6 separate regions of the Homo sapiens genome follow, and regions 1, 2, 3, 5 and 6 are each linked to region 4. The links are contacts of gene promoters, found by promoter capture Hi-C in blood cells and fetal thymus (Javierre and others, 2016). All regions are on one chromosome and are shown on one strand. Each heading gives the region's core, a stretch centred on a gene start or on the middle of the fragment in contact. The rest is flanking DNA. Distances are from core to core; before and after follow the strand shown.

Region 1 (2,861 bases), core at 230-2,729, 320 kb after region 4:
AACACCTCTATACACATAAACTAGAAAATCTAGAAGAAACTGATGAACTTCTGAACACATACCCCCAATCCCATAACTGAACCAGGAAGAATTCAAATCCCTGAATAGACCAATAATGAGTCCTGAAATTGAGGCAGTAATAAATAGCTTACTAACCAAAAAAAGTCCAGAACCAGATGGATTCACTTCATAGGCACGAAGAATTGGTACCATTTGTACTGAAACTATTCCAAAGAATTGAAAAGGAGGGACTCTTCCCTAACTCATTCTATGACATCAGCATTAACCTGATGCCAAAACCTGGCAGTGATAGAACAAAAAAAGAAATCTTCAGGCCAATATCCTTGATAAGAATCAATGCAAAAACCCTCAATAAAATACTAGCAAACTGAATCCAGCAGCACATCAAAAAGCTTATCCACTATGATCAAATATGGAACCCAAAAAGAGGCCAAATAGCCAAGACAATCCTAAGCAAAAACAAAGCTGGAGGCATCATGCTACCTGGCTGAAAAATATACTACAAGACTACAGTGACAAAACAGCATGGTACTGGTACAAGAACAGACACATAGACCAATGGAAGAGAATAGAGAACCCAGAAATAAGACTGCACGCCTCCAACCAGCTGATCTTCAACAAACTTGACAAAAACAAGCAATAGAGAAAGGATTTTCTATTTAACAAATGGTGCTAGGAGAACTAACTGGCTAACCATATGGAGAAAATTGAAACTGAACCCTTTTCTTACACCATATACAAAAATCAACTCAAGATGGATTAAAGACAATTGTAAAACCCAAAATTATAAAAACCCTAGAAGAAAATCTAGGCAATACCATTTAGGACATAAGCACGGGCAAAGATTTCATAAAGAAAATGCCAAAAGCAATTACAACAAAAGCAAAGATTGACAAATGGGATCTAATTAAACGAAAGAGCTTCTGCACAGCAAAAGAAACTATCATCAGAGTGAACAGACAACCTATAGAATGGGAGAAAATTTTTGCAAACTACCCATCTGACAGATGTCTAATATCCAGCATCGACAAGGTACTTAAATAAATTTACAAGAAAAAAACAAGCTCATTAAAAAGTGGGCAAAGGACATGAACAGACCCTTCTCAAAAGAAGACATGCGACTGGGTGCAGTGGCTCACGCCTGCAATCCCAGCACTTTGGGAGGCCAAGGCGGGCAGATCACGAGGTCAGGAGATCGAGACCATCCTGGCTAACATGGTGAAACCCCGTCTCTACTAAAAAATACAAAAAATTAGCTGGGTGTGGTGGCGGGCACCTGTAGTCCCAGCTACTCGGGAGGCTGAGGCAGGAGAATGGTGTGAACCTGGGAGGTGGAGCTTGCAGCAGTGAGCAGCTGAGATCGCGCCACTGCACTCCAGCCTGGGCAACAGAGTGAGACTCCGTCTCAAAAAAAAAAAAAAAAAGAAAGCTCAACATTACTAATCATTAGAGAAATACAAATCAAAACCATAATGAGATACCATCTTATGCCTGTCAGAACGGTTATCATTAAAAAGTCAAGAAACAACAGATGCTGGCAAGGTTGTGGAGAAAAAGGAACACTTTTACACTGTTGGTGGGAGTGTAAATGAGTTCAACCATTGTGGAAGACAGTGTGGTGATTCCTCAAAGACCTAGAGGCAGAAATATCACTTCACTCAGCAATCTCATTACTGCGTATATATACCCAGAGGAATAGATCATTCTGTTATAAAGATACATGTGTGCATATGTTCATTGCAGCTTTATTCATAATAGCAAAGACTTGTAATCAACCTAAATGTCCATCAATGATAGACTAGATAAAGAAAATGTGGTTACATATGTACCATGGAATACTGTGCAGCCATAAAAAGGAATGAGATCATGTTCTTTGCAGGGACGTGGATGGAGCTGGAAGCCATTATCCTCAGCAAACTAATGCAGGAACAGAAAACCAAATACCACATGTTCTCACTTATAAGTGGGAACTGAATGTTGAGAACACATGAACACATAGTGGGGAACAACACACACTGGGGCCTGTCGGAGGGTGTGGGTGGGAGGAGGGAGAGGGTCAGGAAGAATAGCTAATGGATGCTGCACTTAATACCTAGGTGATGGGACTATCTGTACAGCAAACCACCATGGCACACATTTACCTATGTAACAAACCTGCATATCCTGCACAGGTACCCCTGAACTTAAAATAAAAGTTGGAAAAAAAGATATTTAAAAGGAATGTTTTTAATATTAAAAAATAGAAATTGGGATTTTTTAATGCATAGATCTCTTCTTTTAACCAGCCTTTTTGAATCCTTTAAACTGTAAGATATTTGTTTAATAAGTTAATAGACTAGGAAGCAATATTTTAAATAATAGCAAGCCTTTGGAAACTCACTATTTAGCAGGAATACTTAAGATTTTTAAAACAAAGAAATGTATCATCTTCTTTTTATCACATTCACAGACTAGCTATGTTCGCCTACCTAACACAATAAGATATAAATGAGATGAAGAATATATTATACATTTTCATTTAAACAAAGCTTTTTATTTTTGTCATTCTATTAACCATGGTTTGTGAAATGATAGATTGTGGACTAAGAGAAATAATATATTATTCAGATTAACCTTACTTTCCATGAGCTTCTGCATTAATAATCAGGTTTTAATATAAGTATTACATTTGACTGACATACACTATCATTTTGTTCATAGTTAACATACTGCACAAAAGTGAAGATGTGAGAGATTCTTCTGAAGGATTGATTGCAGACAAAAATAATTCCTAGGAGAGAAACAAAGGAGAATATAATTTCCCTGACTTAGCTATTTTTTCTTTTAATTGTAAAAAACTG
Region 2 (2,876 bases), core at 43-2,542, 420 kb after region 4:
AATATCCCATTGGTTCATGGCTCTGCAGGCTGACAAGCATGGCACTGCATCTGCTTCTGGTGGGGGCCTCAGGAAGATTCCCATTATAGTGGAAGCTAAGGGGAGCAGGCACATCACATAGGGAGAGTGGGAGCAAGAGAGGAGACTAGGAGGTGCCACACACTTTTAAACCACCAGATATCATGAGAATTCGCTCACTATCATGAGGGCAGCACCAACCCATCCATGAGGGATCTGTCCCCATGACCCAAACACTTCCAATCAGGCCCCACTTCCAACATTGGGAATTACATTTCAATATGAGATTTAGAGGGTACAAACATCCAAATTATATCATTCTGCCCCTGGCCCTTCAAATTTCATGCCCTTCTCATATTGCAAAATACAATCATCTCCTGAAAATGGGCTTTTCTTTTCTACCACATGGATAGGCTGCAAATTTTGCACATGTTTACAGTTTTCTTTTTAACATAAGTTCTAACTTTAAGTCCTTTCTTCACTCCCACATCAACGTGTAGGTTTTTAGAAACAGGTCATACCTTGAACATTTGCTGCTTAGAAATTTCTTCCATCATATATGCGAAGTCATCACTCTTAAGTTCAAGCTTTCATTTATTCCTAGGACATGAACATAATGCAGTCAAGTTTTTTGCTAAGGCATAACAAGGATGACTTTTACTCCAGTTCCCAATAAGTTCCTAATTTCCTTCTGAGACCTCATCTGCCTGGCCTTCATTGTCCATATCACTATCAGCATCTTGATCACAGCCATTTAACCAGTCTCTAAAATAAGTTCTAAACATTTCCTCATCTTCCTGTCTTCTTCTGAGCCCTCCAAACTCTGCCTGTTACCCAGTTTCAAAGTTGCTTTCACAATTTTAGGTATCCTTATAGAAAGATCCCACTCCTTGGTACCAATTTTCTGTATTAGGCCCTTATTGCATTGCTATAAAGGAATACCTAAGGCTGGGTAAATAAAAGAGGTTCAATTGGCTCATAGTTCTGCAGACCATATAAGCGCGGTGCTAGCATCTGCTTCTTGTGAGGGTCTCAGGAATCTTCCAATCATGGCAGAAGGAAAAGGGGGAGCAGGTGTGTCACATGGCAAGAGCAGGAGCAAGAAAGAGAGGGGGAAGATGCCACACACTTTTAAACAACCAGATCTCACATGAATGCACTCACAATCACCAGGACAGCACCAGGCCATGAGGGAGCAGCCTCCATGACTGAAACACCTCTCACTAGGCCCCACCTCCAACATGGAGGATTATACTTTAACATGAGTTTTGGAAGTGATAAACATCCAAACTATATCAGCCATTACCAGCTGCCAGCTATATGAGTGAGCTGTCTTGGATGTCAAGGCTAGTTAATCCTTCAGATAACAGGGATGAGCTGATGTTTGATTGCAAATATATTGGAGGCCCTAAGTGAAAACTACCTAGCTGAACCAATTGTAATTCCTAACCCACATAATTATAAGAAAAATAAAATGGTGGTTGTTTTACAACGCTAATTTTTGAGTAGTCTGTCATATGCCAATGTGAACTATAAGAGAAAGAGAACAATAGTTTTTGAAGAGTCATTTTGCACAGAAAGTGAAGAGGAGAGAAGAGTCAAAAAAATTCTAGGGATTGAATATTTTTTAAAAAAAAATTTTGTCATCCTGGTGAACAGGAAAATGAATTGAAGATGTAAGATGAAGGAGAGAAGTTAATACAGATGGCTTTGAGTATATTATATTTGGGATGTGCCAAAAGTAGTGCATGTGTCCACAAAACAATTTGTACAAGAATATTCACAGAACTTTAATGAGGTTTTCCCAAACTAGAAACATGTTACATATAATATTTATTTTTGCAGGTCAAATAAATATATATAACATAAATATTATATGTAACATGTTCCTTTTATTGAACAAGTAATACATGCACATGAACAAAATTCAAATAGTTCAAATTGGTACATGATGACAGAAATAAGCTTTCCTTCCATTTTGGACCCTTTGTATTCTTTGCCAGAACTAACCACTGTAAAGAGTTTCTTGTGGATCTTTCCAAAAACGTTGTATGCTTATGTAAGCTTATGTAGTTATAAAAGACATATATATATATATATATATATATATATATATGTACACACACAATTTTTACCAAAATATGTTTATTATTTTGGTGTACCTGAGAGACAGCTCCATTTAGATTTGCTTTGGTGTCTTCATGATGTCACAGCTTTTCAATGTATGAATATGCCAATACATTGTAATGTGTGTGTGTATATATACCTATATATTATATTTAACATATTTCTTATCAGTGAGCATTTAGGTTGCTTTTAATTAAAAAATTAAAATGGCAATTAGCATGTGTGTTTATACACATATATACATATGTGTATATATACTAGTGTGTGTATATGAGAGTCTATAACATAACTTTCTGAAAATGGAAGAGCTAGCTCAAAGGGAATATGAGTTTTACATTTTAAAACATAATACCAAATTGCTCCCTAAGGAGATTTTATCAGCTTCAATTCAACTACCTAGTTTCTCACATCTTTACCAATGGCTGTTATCATTGAATAATTGTTTTGCCATTCTGATAGTATAATTTCTTCAATTTTTATTTCCTTAATCATCAGTTAGGTTTAGCACTTTTAATGTGTTTTTGGCCAGTTATATTTCCTTTTCCCTGATTTCACCAATTTTCTTGTTTTTAAAGATTCATGGCCCTTTGTATATTAGGGGGCATTAATTATAATGAATTCAGTTGTTAAATATGTATACTTATCAGGAGAAGAGAATGGGTCAATGGAAGGTACATTCTTGAAGTCTCACCAGAAGGGGACAAGAGAATGAAGCAGTGTGACTATATAGT
Region 3 (3,031 bases), core at 152-2,651, 260 kb after region 4:
GTCACAGGATCCATATACAAAAATCAACTGCATTTCCATATATGCTAGTGCAATCTGAAATGAAATTTTTAAAACTCCATCCATAATAGCATCAAAAAAGTTAAAAAACTTAGGAATAAAATTGCTTTAAAAAGTTCAAAATCAGCATACCTCAAAATAATAAGAACTATTTATGACAAACCCACAGCCAATATCATACTGAATGGGCAAAAACTGGAAGCATTCCCTTTGAAAACCTGCACAAGACAAGGATGCCCTCTCTCACCACTCCTATTAACATAGTACTGGAAGTTCTGGTCAGGGAAATCAGGCAAGAGAAAGAAATAAAGGGTATTCAAACAGGAAGTGAGGAAGTAAAATTGTCTTTGTTTGCAGATGACATGACTGTATATTTAGAAAACCCCATTGTCTCAGCCCAAAATCTCCTTAAGCTGATAGACAACTTCAGCAAAGTCTCAGGATACAAAATCAACGTGAAAAAATCACAAGCATTCCTATACACCAATAACAGACAGAGAGCCAAATCATGAGAGAACTCCCATTCACAATTGCTACAAAGAGAATAAAATACCTAGGAATACAACTTACAAGGGATGTGAAGGACCTCTTCAAGGAGAACTACAAAGCACTGCTCAAGGAAATAAGAGCGGATACAAATGGAAAAACATTCCATGCTCGTGGATAGGAAGAATCAATATCAGGAAAATGGCCATAATGCCCAAATGTATAGATTCAATGCTATCCCCATCAAGCTACCATTGACTTTCTTCACAGAATTAGAAAAAACTACTTTAAATTTCATATGGAACCAAAAAAGAATCCATGTAGCCAAGACATTCCTAAGCAAAAAGAACAAAGCTGGAGGCATCACGCTACCTGACTTCAAACTATACAAGGCTACAGTAACCCAAACAGCACGGTACTGGTACCAAAACAGGTATGTAGACCAATGGAACAGAACAGAGGCTTCAGAAATAACACTACACAACTACAACCATTTGATCTTTGACAAACCTAACAAAAACAAGCAACGGGGAAAGGGTTCCCTATTTAATAAATGCTGTTGGGAAAACTGGCCAGCTAGCCATATGCAGAAAACTGAAACTGGGCCCCTTCCTTACACCTTATACAAAAATTAACTCAAGATGGATTAAAGACTTAAACGTAAGACCTAAAACCATAAAAAACCTAGAAAACCTAGGCAATACCATTCAGGACATAGGCATGGGCCAAGACTGCATGACTAAAACACCAAAAACAATGGCAACAAAAGCCAAAACTGACAAATGGAATCTAATTAAACAAAAAGGCTGTACCAATTTATTCCCCTTCTCCCCAGCAGTATTGGTGATCAAGAGACTGGTAACTTGTTATTTTCTTGATTAACTTTTCCAATGTGTGTTTACTTGTAAAATTTCCTCTAGTATGTGATCTTTTAATGCTTCTAGGATATTTCTTTTTTTTTTTTTTTTTAAAGGAGTCTCGCTCTGTCACCCAGGCTGGAGTACAGTGGCGTGATCTTGGCTCACTGCAACCTCTGCCTCCCACGTTCAAGCAATTCTCCTGTCTCAGCCTCCCAAGTAGCTGGGATTACAGGCGCACACCAACACGCCAGGCTAATTTTTGTATTTTTATTAGAGACAGGGTTTCACCGTATTTGCCAGGCTGGTCTAGAACTCCTGACCTGTGGTGATCCACCCACCTCGGCCTCCCAAAGTGATGGGATTACAGGCGTGAGCCACCGCACCCAGCCTTCTAGGGTATTTCTTACCAGGATTCCCTGTCAGTTTCATTTTTAACTTCTTTTATGTTACATATATGGCAAAACGGAGATTTTTCTGGGTAAGCCTGAACTAATCAGGTAGGCCCATTAAAAGCACATTGTTTTCTCAGGTTGCAGAATTGGAAATAAGAGAGACACATGCCAGGTGGCCTGGAAGAATGCAAACATCTATGTAGCAACTTGCCTATCAGGGCCATTGCAAGTCACCTCTAGAAAGTTAAAGCAGTCCCTGGCCAACAGTTACCAAGAAAATGGGGACCTCAGTTTTACAACTGCAATGAACTGAATTCTACCAACAACTAGTACACTTGGAAGAGAACTGTGAGCCCCAGATGAGAAACGTATTCCCAGCTAACACCTTAATTTCAGCCTGGTGGGACCCCAAGCAGAGAATTCAGTCATGCCATGCAATGCCTAGACTTCAGATCCATGGGAAGTGAGATGATAAAACTGCGCTGTTTTAAGTTGTAGGCTTGTGATAATTTATTAAGAAGCAAAGTAAAACAGAATACAACCAGGAATTTAGTGTACAGTCCAAGAATATTGTGCTTTTGGATAATTGAATTTGATAGAGGTATGGAGGCGAAGTTAGAATTGATGGCTCAGGACCCAAATTAGCCCACAGGCCTCTTGGTCTGTACAGCTCTGGGCTATACTCTCCTTCAAAAATGTTTAAATTAGGTGTTAAAGTTCTCAAAATCTGGAAACTTAACATAAATTCTGAATTTCCAACTTCTCTTGAAAAATCACAAGGAAAAAAAGGAAATCTAGGCCAGTTTTCTAAGTGGTTGTCCTTAAGTAGCAGCTGTCCCCTTTGAAAAAGAAAGTCACACTCCAGTTTGCCACAGCCCTATCACTCCACAATGCCACCAGTCCTGAAGCTCAGCTATCATTTATCATCATGGCTATGCTGTTATTCTTCATATGCCTAGGCCATTTCACTCCTTTATTTCATCTGTCTAGACCCTGTTGGCAGTGAGCTTGTAGCCACTTGTACAGAGTATAGAGACCTTATGGTCACCATGCCTCTTCTGATGTCCACATCAACCACAGTAGATGAATAACAGCAATAAATTAAGCTCTAGAAGGTGTTAAATGGAAACATTCTGTATTCAAAAGAGGGGAGATAGTGCATCTGACTCTGATAAACCAGAAGTATAATTAATATTGTTACGAAACTTGAGAAATCTTATTTATGTTCTCAATTAAATGGAAGCTCATTCAACTTCCTGAGGTGTGCCACGGAAC
Region 4 (2,916 bases), core at 105-2,604:
TCAGGAATCTTTCAAGTTTCCACTCAAGATGTGGGGTTTCACTGTATGGGCAACAACATGGTCATGAATGTACGCCTCTACGAGAACTGGGTTTTGATGCTCAAGTATTTTGATATTGGAAGAGAAGATTTTCCTAGCAGGAAATCTGATGCGTGCATTTGGTAGTGCTACTGAGAAACGAATCAAATATATCTTGTGTAACAGTAAAAAGAAGTGGGAAGATTCTGACACAATGACATCCTGGCTGGAGGAGTTTAGCCGACACTTAGCGCACAGGAGATGAGTTCTTTCCATCTCCTAAAGAGGAAAAAGGGCAAATTCACCCAGAGAAGGAGAGAAAATGTGTTCCATAATCTATTGAAATTTATGTTCAGTAACGAACTTTGGACATCTAAGCTTGTTAGCTGCAAATACCCCTTAAGAGTTCTACAAAAAAATGCTGCTACGGAATTGCAAAGATTTTGAAATGCAGTACTACAGTGACAGCTGATCCGGGTCCATACCTGCAAGCAGAGGGCTAGTGACCCTTTCGTGTCCATCTTTTTATCAGCGGCCTCTAACCAAGCGGCCTCTCTGTGGGTACCCCCTACCTACCCCATCCCATATTGTGAACTATTATATTTTCTGTCTGCAACCTGGAACCTGACCCTTTTTCCCTGTCTCCAACTCCCGCCAGGGGCCGGCCTCCTTACCTTCCTTCCTCTCCCACCGGTCCACAGAAAAGTTGGCGCCCCCGTCTACCTGTGCCAGAGCCTGGCACACCTGGGCCTGGGTCTCCAGAATCAGCAGCTCCATCTTGGTCTTCATGTCGCCCGGCCTCCTTCGCAGCTCGCCCAGGTCGGTCACAGGCGGGGCCATGAAGCTGCTGCAGCGGTGGGCCAGCTCATCCTCCTCCTCCTCCGGCCTCCCCAGCGAAGTGGCCCGCGTCCCCGAGGTCTTAGGCAACATCTCCGCCCGCTGCACATGCCCGAAGGCGGCGGTGGCCAGCCCCACCAACCCCGCCAGCGCCGCGGCCAGCCCTGTCCCCACCCAGGGGCCGCCTCTCGACGTCGAGCCGTGCCCCAGCCCGCGGCTCTGCTCCGTGCCAGCCGGGCCAGGGGGCCGGCAGACGCGTCCGGCTGCGCTGCGCTGGGACCAGGCTCGGAGCCCTCCGCCGCCGCACTGGGACCAGGCGCGGGGCCCTCCGCAGCCGCCCCGCGCCACGAGCCAGCAGGGGCCCGAGCTCAGCCTGCCCAGCTGCAAGGCCATGTTCCCGCACTATCACCTGGAGCAGTGCCTGCGTCCCAGAGCCCTGCGTTTGAGCCCCCCACCCAGACCCCCGGAGTATTGAGCCGGCGAGCTGCACAGGCGGAAAGAACCTTTCGAGAAGAGCCGCTGCAGCGTCGGGCTCCGGAGGCGGGGGCGGGAACTGGGGCGCGCTGGGAGCTGTAGTCCGGATCCTATCGCCGCCTGCGGCGTCCCTGCGCGGGGCGGGAGATAAGAATCCGACGCGCCCAGAAGGGCTGGTCCGAAGGGAAGAGAGTGGGGCGGGGACGGTGCTGTGGAAGGGACGGGAGAGATAAAAGAGGCTTTCTTGTCACGTACAACCTCGGGTCGGCTGTTTACTCAGCCAAGGAGAGAAGATAGAGTAGGGCTGGGAGGCTGAGGGCGGACTGGGGCGGAAATGTGGCAGAGATCCCAGTCCCGCTTACATTTTCAAACAGGATTTGCGAATACAGAGCCTGGCTCAGGATCTGTATAGACCCGCCCTTCGCCCTGGGTCCTGGTCCTCTAGAGTTTTTAGAGGGGATGGGCAGGCTGGGAAACTCTTTGCTGAAGGATGGTTTTCTAAAGAGAGTGGGAGAAGCTAGTAATGGACTCGGAAGAGAGTCGAGGAGAAGACTTTCTGTGATCGAGTCCACATCACAGTTCTGTCCTTAAGATTTCCCCAGGCTGGGGCCGGGCGCGGTGGCTCAAGCCTGTAATGCTAGCATTTTGGAAAGCCGAGGCGGTTGGATCACATGAGGTCAGGAGTTCGAGACCAGCCAACATGGTGAAACCCTGTCTCTACTAAAACTACAAAAAAATAGCCGGGCGTGGCGGCGTGCACCTGTAGGCTCAGCTACTCGGGAGGCTGAGGCAGGAGAATCGCTTGAACCCGGGAGGCAGAGGTTGTAGTGAGCCGAGATCGCACCACTGCACTCCAGCCTGGGTGACAGAGTGAGACTCTGTCTCAGAAAAAAAAAAAAAAAAAAAAGGTTTCCCCAGGCCTTGCTTCTATAGTGCCTACTTGATTATTTTAGAAAAAGGAAAAGCAACGTGACTGTTTTGGTTAACCAGTAGAAAATTCCTGACTTGGTGTGTTTTGGTGATTAACAAATAAGAATTTAAAAAATAGTTATTCTACTACTGTAGGGTGCTCCCAAATATTGCTCACGTTTAATACTTACAACAACTGCTACAAACTAGGCAAGGCAAATATCCACACTTCCTCCTACTCTGTCTCCCTTCCCCCACCCTTTAAAGAAATGAGGAAAGAAGCTAATAGATTTGACAGGCAGGTCTTTGTCTCCCCTGTAACCATACCACAGCTCCATGGTTCCTGGACGTAAAAGTGTGAGAACTATTGTCATGGGCTAATTTGTCCCATAAGTCTCCGGGATGATTTTAATTTCTAGTAGTAGATAATAATTTAAGCCACTGGTAGCTTTTCCCACAAGTGTTTTCTTTGTGGCAGGATGCACTGATGGAACTTCAATGGCTTTTGAGTCAGATCAATTGGCATCTTGTCCACACACAACTGTACCTGGCAGCTCTCACTGGGACATGATGTTAGCAAGGTGGGTGTGCTTGCCGAAGCCTCACCACTGAGAATCTGTGAAAAGTAAAGGCTTGGATTGAGAAGTGACTAAGCGACTTTTAGGGAAGAAAAACAAT
Region 5 (2,957 bases), core at 173-2,672, 300 kb after region 4:
TGGGTACTGAATCACACTGGGTCAATGTGAGGGCCAACTCACCCTTTCCTGGACCTTGTACAATAGGGAAAATACAGAATTTCTCCGTGTTAAAACCGTAAGCCTTCGGGATTGCCAGCAGCCATGATTCCTTCCACAAAGAGAAAGCCAGACTGAAACAAGAGGGAAGAACTAAGCTGAGTCCTTGGTTCCTGAAGTCTAGCTGCATTCCTGCCTTCCCCTCTCAATCCTCCCAATAGTTTCTCCTTCTACCTTAATCAGATATGGATTTCTGTTCTCTATAACCTCAAAAGTCCTAACTAAAACACTCTTCCTCCATGCATGCAAAAGAATGTCCACCTCACATCCAGACCTATAAAGCTGGCTTTTAGGATGCCAAGAGTAGACAGAAACAAAGGTATATCAGGAAAGAAGAGATAAAATGATCTGAGATGGTGGGGATCAAAAAACACTGAAGCACACCAACAGGCAGAAGGCTGAAGAGGCAGAGCAAAGGTCAAAAAGGAGAGCACAGAACTCACATTAAGATTTGGGTGGGCTGGAGACAGTCATGCCTTTCTGCCACATTCCTCTATTGCATGCTCTGACTCCTCTCACTGAGCTGGGGGTGGAACAATAATTGGGGATAAAGGGAAGAGGGATGGAAAAGTGAGTCTTAGTGGAACGGAAACATATAAAAATGGAAATTTTAACTGCAGAGTAAAATGAAACAAAATTTTCTTTGACATATTGATTCATTCATTGAACAAAAATTTACTTGCTACCCAGATTCAATCCCAGCCCTCGTTACAGTCTAAAAAGAAAGATGAGTTACATATTTTAAAATATTTAGAGTAGTAACTGGATGTCAAGTTCAACAAGGCTATTATTTAAATCCAGGTATGTCCAAGTCCAAAGCCTCCAGATTTTCAAAGACCACTGTAGTAAGAAAAAAAAAAAAAAGAAACCAATAATAAAGATAGGCAAAGCTGCTTGGTTTTTCAAACTAAAACAAAAACCAAAACAAACAAAAATCTGACAGTGTAAATGACAGTTTCAGTAAAGCAGAAACAAAACCCTTGCTTTTTTATTGCAAGGGTTAAAAAATAAATTAACAATTTAACAAATATCTGCTGTGTGCCAGTCACTAAGAAAATATACAGCACAAATGTAGATTACCATTTAGAAAGCTCGTCACTGAAAAAAGCAGAGATACAAGGTACCACAAAGCAATGAAAAAAGAGATATGTAAAAGCCAGTGGCATTTTGAGCATGTTTCCAGATATAAAGTAAAAGTGCCATCAAAGTGTAAAGCATGCCAAAACAAAATTCACATTCCCCAATGTAGCAGTGCTCTGATAAAGAGGAAGAGGACAAGGTTTCAGTCAGGAGGAAGTCATACTGTGCAAGGATTAGGAGCAGGGCAGGAGTTCGGCTGTACAAATCAGCTTTACAAAGTGAGATAGTCTGCTAAGCAGTAATCCCCACTTGGGACTTGATTAGCCAGACCTCATTTGTGGCAGATCTAATCACGATGACCACATGACTTAATCTTGTAACTATGAGCTATCCAGAACCAGAGAAAGCAGAGAATGGGGATTATCACATGGGCCCAAGTTTGGGAACTGTCCAAGATCACGGAAAGAGCATTGTTGAGATGATGGATTTGGGGTGCCTGAGTTGAGAAGAGATAACCAAACCTAGTGACAGACAAATGAACCAGGTGAAAGAGGAAGCACCTGAGGCTAATGTCAGGCCTAACATCGCAGATACAAACTCCTCAGTCTGCCCCTCAATGGGAAGTCCTCCACAATACGTTCCAGCCTCCATTTCTCATTACTTTTCTATTACACCAGATTAGTGAAGCTACCTGAATGCTCCCCAGCAACATCCACTGGCAAGAAAAAGGAGACAGGCAACTACGAGAACAAAAACTAGGGGGACTTTTATAATATTGGAGATGCCTATTGAAGTCAGAAGCTGAAAGCATGCAAAGGAGAAAGTGTGCCCAAATTGCTGGCACTGATTTAGGCTGTCACGGTTGTTAAGGATGACCCATCTGAGGGGAGCAGAGCTTTCTAAGAAGTAGGCATGTCTATTTTCAGAATTTCAGCTTGAAGGATTCCTCTCATAGTCAAGGGTGTGCAGCAAAGGAGTCTTCCTCCTGGGAAGAGGTGGGACTGGGAAAGGCTGGGAAGACTGTTAGGCTCTGAGCAAACAGGTAGTAAGGGTCAAGACATGGCTCTGTTCCCGGCTCCTGAACTGACCACTAATTTACGGGGATTAGGCAAAGGACAACAGCATGAAGTGCATGCCGGTGCCAAGGGATGAACCAAATAATGTGCTCAGGGTAGCAGATTAACTCTAGAAATGGGGTTCTTAATTCACATAATTTGAATGACAGACACTATGATAAGTATTAGAAATAAGAAAATGAATAAAACTCTCTCCGCTGGCAGGAATAAATACTTAGAATACAGTGTGGAATGTATTATCCGGAGATGAGTGTGTGGGGACTGTTCGAGAACTCTTCATAAAGGGATGATACCCAAGAAGGGTTTTGAAGGCTGATCGAGAGTTTACCGAGAAGACAAGGAAAGTAAGAGCATTTCAAGTAGAGGAAACTGCATATATGAAGAGGTTAGTATAGGGAACAAGGCAAAATGGCATGAAATTATATCTTAGAAGAATAAAATTAGCTCAGTCTCATATCTGAACTATACAGTGTGAGAAATGCTGGCATTAGATTAAGTCAGAGTGAAAGGGAGGGACCAGACTGTGAAAAAAATTACTTACATGATACGCAAAGGAGTTTGGACGGTATCTTACAGATGATAAAGGGGCTGCTGGCAACACTATGGAAGTCATTAACACAGCTCCAAGAGGAAAATGCCCCAGCATGTGGTACCATGCCTGGCCCACAGTAACCAACCAACGTTTTTCCAATAACTGGGCAGACACAGGGCATGAGTTCAAGA
Region 6 (3,100 bases), core at 205-2,704, 280 kb after region 4:
ATTCATTTTTTGGAAAAATTTAACAGAATAGGCATGCCCCTAGCTAATTTAATGAAAAAAGAGGGTGGGAAGCATAAATATGTAAAATAAGAAATGACAGGAGGTAAATAACTATTGGAAAAACACTGAAATAACCATGTTAATAACTGTAAGATTCTATTTTACAGACATCATGGCCAATATATTAGATCACCTAGGTGAATGGGTAATTTACCAGGCAAGTACCGTTTATTACAATTGGACCCATTAGAGGTAGAAAGCTCAAACAGACCAATTTCCTGAGAAGAAACAGAGAACGTCATTAAGGAAGCATCCTATCAAAAACGCACCAGGCTAAAATAGCTTCACAGAGTGAAACCTTCAAAAACTAGATTGTTCAAATTCTCTGTAAATTTTTCCAGAGAACTAAAAAGAAAGGAAAACTTCATATTTCTTTTTATTTGTATGTATAGTATCAATACCTAAGCCTGATAAAGAAAATGCAAAGTAAATTACAAATTAATATCACACCAATATTTATGCAAAAATACTAATAAAATATTAGGAAACATAATCCAATGCCACATTAAAAGAATGTCACATCATAACCAAGAGATACTTATTCCAACAATGCACAGTTATTTCAATATTAGGGAACCCATTAATATAATACACTATACCAATAGATTTAGGTAGAAAAACCATATCATTACCTCCATAGATGCTAAAAAAGCTTTTCAACAAAATTCAATAGTCTTTCTTGATAACAACACTTAATGGAAATCAGTGGATACTTCCTATTATGGACCAGATACTGGTACGCCCCCCAAAATTAATTGCTGTTGAAGTCCCAACTCTTAATATGACTAGAGTTGGAGTTAGGCTCTTTAGAGAGGTAATTAAAATTAAATGGTTTTAGTTTTCCTAAGGTGGGGCGCTGATCCAACAGGATTAGTGTACTTATAAGAAGAGACATAAGAGAACCTGCTGTTTCTCTCTCCTCATCCCTCCAACCTCGTCATGTGAGGACACAGGAAGAAGGTGGCCATCTACAAGCCAGGAAGAGAGCCCTCACCAGAAACTGAATTGCTTGGCATCTTGATGTGGGACTTCTAGCCTCCAAAACTCTGAGAAAGTAAACTGCTGTTTTTTTAAGCCACTCGGTCTATAGATTTTGTTACGGCAACCTGAGCTCAGACACTTTAAATTTCCACTAAGATAAGGAACCCGGAAAGGATGCTCACTCTCTCCACTACTGTTTAACGTAGTCCTGGACTGGAGGTGTTAGCCAATACAATTAGATAAAAGAATCAACCATAGGCATAAGAAATGGAAAAAAAGGAAGTAGAACTATCTCTATCTGCAGATGTGATTGTGTATCTGAAAATCCCTAGAAAGTGAATGATAAAACTAACTGAAATAATTTTAAAAACTCAGTAAAATAGCAGAAAAAAATCAACATACAGAAATACAATCTCACATAATTAGGAACCCGTTACAGGATATAACAGCAAAACAAAAACACCTCCATCTCCATTGCAACAAAGCAGATAAGATGTTAAGGATTAAGTTTAACAAAAAATGTGTAAACCCTACATGAGAAAGAGTTTAAAACAATCCTTAAAGACAACAAAAGTAGATGTGAAGAAAGGAGAAAAAAAAAGAGCTCTTGGTTTTGAACTTAAGATAACTCAACATCATAAAGTTAATTTATAAACAGTATAATGTCAATAAAAACACCAACGAGCTTTTTTGTGGAGTTAGATAAGCTGATACTAAACTTCACATGGATAAACAAACAGGAAGGAAGACCCAGGAAAACACTAAAAATGAACGTTTCTGAAAGGAGACTAAGCCCTATCAGGCATTAACACATACCGTAAAGCCTCTGAAAGCCTTTACAAAACAGTCACATTCTGGTATGTGGATAGATACATCTGTGGAGTGCAACCCAAAGTCCAGAAATAGACCCAAGCACATACAGAACTGCAGTATATGATAAAGGCAGTATTTCAAACCACTGGGACAAAGATAAACTTTTAAATGCATGGTGATGGGGCAAGTGGTTAGTCATATGGAAAACACAATGAGATCTATACTTCATGCCATACAAAAGAAAAAAACCCCGATGTACCAGGGATCTAAATATAAAAAATGAAATCATATAATCCCACTATGAAAAAAATGGGTAAATTTATCTTTAGTTGGGATATAGGAAGAAGCTTTCTAACTAGGACTTAGAATCTAGATGCAATTTAAAAAAAGACTAATGAATCTAACTATAAATACATTTTTAAAAGTTTGCATGGTTGAAAAAAAGTAACATAAACAAAGTCAAAAGACAACTGACAAATTAGGAGAAATTATTTGTAGCATATACCACTATTATGTTTATAGACTAATATCCCTAAAAGATAATGAGAAGTCCTAAAACCTGAGAGAAACAAAGACCAATAAAACTTGACAGATGGGCAAATGGTGTGTGCCTGTCGTCCCAGCTACTCAGGGGGCTGAGGTGAGATGATTGCTTGAGCCCAGGGGTTTGAGGCCAGCCTGAGCAATATAGAAAGACCTGTCTTTAAAAATAAAAAAAAACTTGACAGAAAAACGGGCAAAAGACAGGAAGAGATAAAAAGTAAAAAAAAAAAAAAAAAAAAAAAAAAAAAAGGCCGTCAACATATGGGAAAAAACAGTTCAATTTCACTCATAGTAAGAGAAATGCAAATTACAACTATACTGAGCACTATTTATCATTATCAATTGGCAAAACTTAAAAGATATGACAACACACTTTGTTGGGAAGGCTGTGGAAAACAAGCATTTTTATGCTATGGAAATGCAAACTGGTATAACTTCCAATTTAGCAATGTCTAACAAAGTATATAATTTACCTTTTGACTCAGCAATCACTTCAGGAATCTACACCAAAGACACCTCTAAGAATACAAAAATAGTTTGTAACTGTAAAATATTGAAAGCAACCAATACAACCATTCATAAAAGAGTGATTAAATAAACTATGATACATCCACATGATGGAGTTCTATACTGCTATAAAAAGAATGAGGACTATCCTACAAAATGATGCACAGTGATTTCCAGAAAACACTGATAGGTAGGG

What was found. The method cuts DNA at HindIII sites, captures the fragments that hold promoters and counts their contacts. A CHiCAGO score of 5 or more calls a contact.
Region 1: a fragment that was not itself captured here is called in contact with the fragment with the promoter of CPOX in region 4 in 3 of 17 cell types (fetal thymus, monocytes and neutrophils); the score reaches 8.1 in fetal thymus.
Region 2: a fragment that was not itself captured here is called in contact with the fragment with the promoter of CPOX in region 4 in 1 of 17 cell types (megakaryocytes); the score reaches 6.2 in megakaryocytes.
Region 3: a contact is called between a fragment that was not itself captured here and the fragment with the promoter of CPOX in region 4, in 1 of 17 cell types (neutrophils). The highest score is 6.3, in neutrophils.
Region 5: a fragment that was not itself captured here is called in contact with the fragment with the promoter of CPOX in region 4 in 3 of 17 cell types (fetal thymus, erythroblasts and megakaryocytes); the score reaches 8.3 in fetal thymus.
Region 6: a contact is called between a fragment that was not itself captured here and the fragment with the promoter of CPOX in region 4, in 2 of 17 cell types (erythroblasts and megakaryocytes). The highest score is 10.6, in erythroblasts.

What each region holds. Positions count from the first base shown.
Region 1 is chr3:98,909,828-98,912,688 of GRCh38, forward strand. No RefSeq gene overlaps it. Among named protein-coding and RNA genes, the nearest start is that of LINC00973, 3.3 kb to the right of the region's middle. The HindIII fragment of the contact is 2,136 bases long and covers 412-2,547 here.
Region 2 is chr3:99,008,743-99,011,618 of GRCh38, forward strand. No RefSeq gene overlaps it. Among named protein-coding and RNA genes, the nearest start is that of LINC00973, 96 kb to the left of the region's middle. The HindIII fragment of the contact is 1,378 bases long and covers 604-1,981 here.
Region 3 is chr3:98,850,794-98,853,824 of GRCh38, forward strand. The region is part of intron 2 of DCBLD2 (discoidin, CUB and LCCL domain containing 2); the gene reads right to left. Among named protein-coding and RNA genes, the nearest start is that of DCBLD2, 49 kb to the right of the region's middle. The HindIII fragment of the contact is 3,478 bases long and covers 1-3,031 here.
Region 4 is chr3:98,592,257-98,595,172 of GRCh38, forward strand. CPOX (coproporphyrinogen oxidase) reads right to left here and starts at 1,355. Exons shown (of 7, transcript NM_000097.7): 1 at 693-1,355. The coding sequence starts at 1,248. RefSeq lists a silencer at 894-1,343 and an enhancer at 1,844-1,893. The HindIII fragment of the contact is 5,536 bases long and covers 395-2,916 here.
Region 5 is chr3:98,892,455-98,895,411 of GRCh38, forward strand. All of the region lies in intron 1 of DCBLD2 (discoidin, CUB and LCCL domain containing 2), which reads right to left. Among named protein-coding and RNA genes, the nearest start is that of DCBLD2, 7.8 kb to the right of the region's middle. The HindIII fragment of the contact is 3,386 bases long and covers 1-2,957 here.
Region 6 is chr3:98,873,797-98,876,896 of GRCh38, forward strand. The region is part of intron 2 of DCBLD2 (discoidin, CUB and LCCL domain containing 2); the gene reads right to left. Among named protein-coding and RNA genes, the nearest start is that of DCBLD2, 26 kb to the right of the region's middle. The HindIII fragment of the contact is 1,489 bases long and covers 711-2,199 here.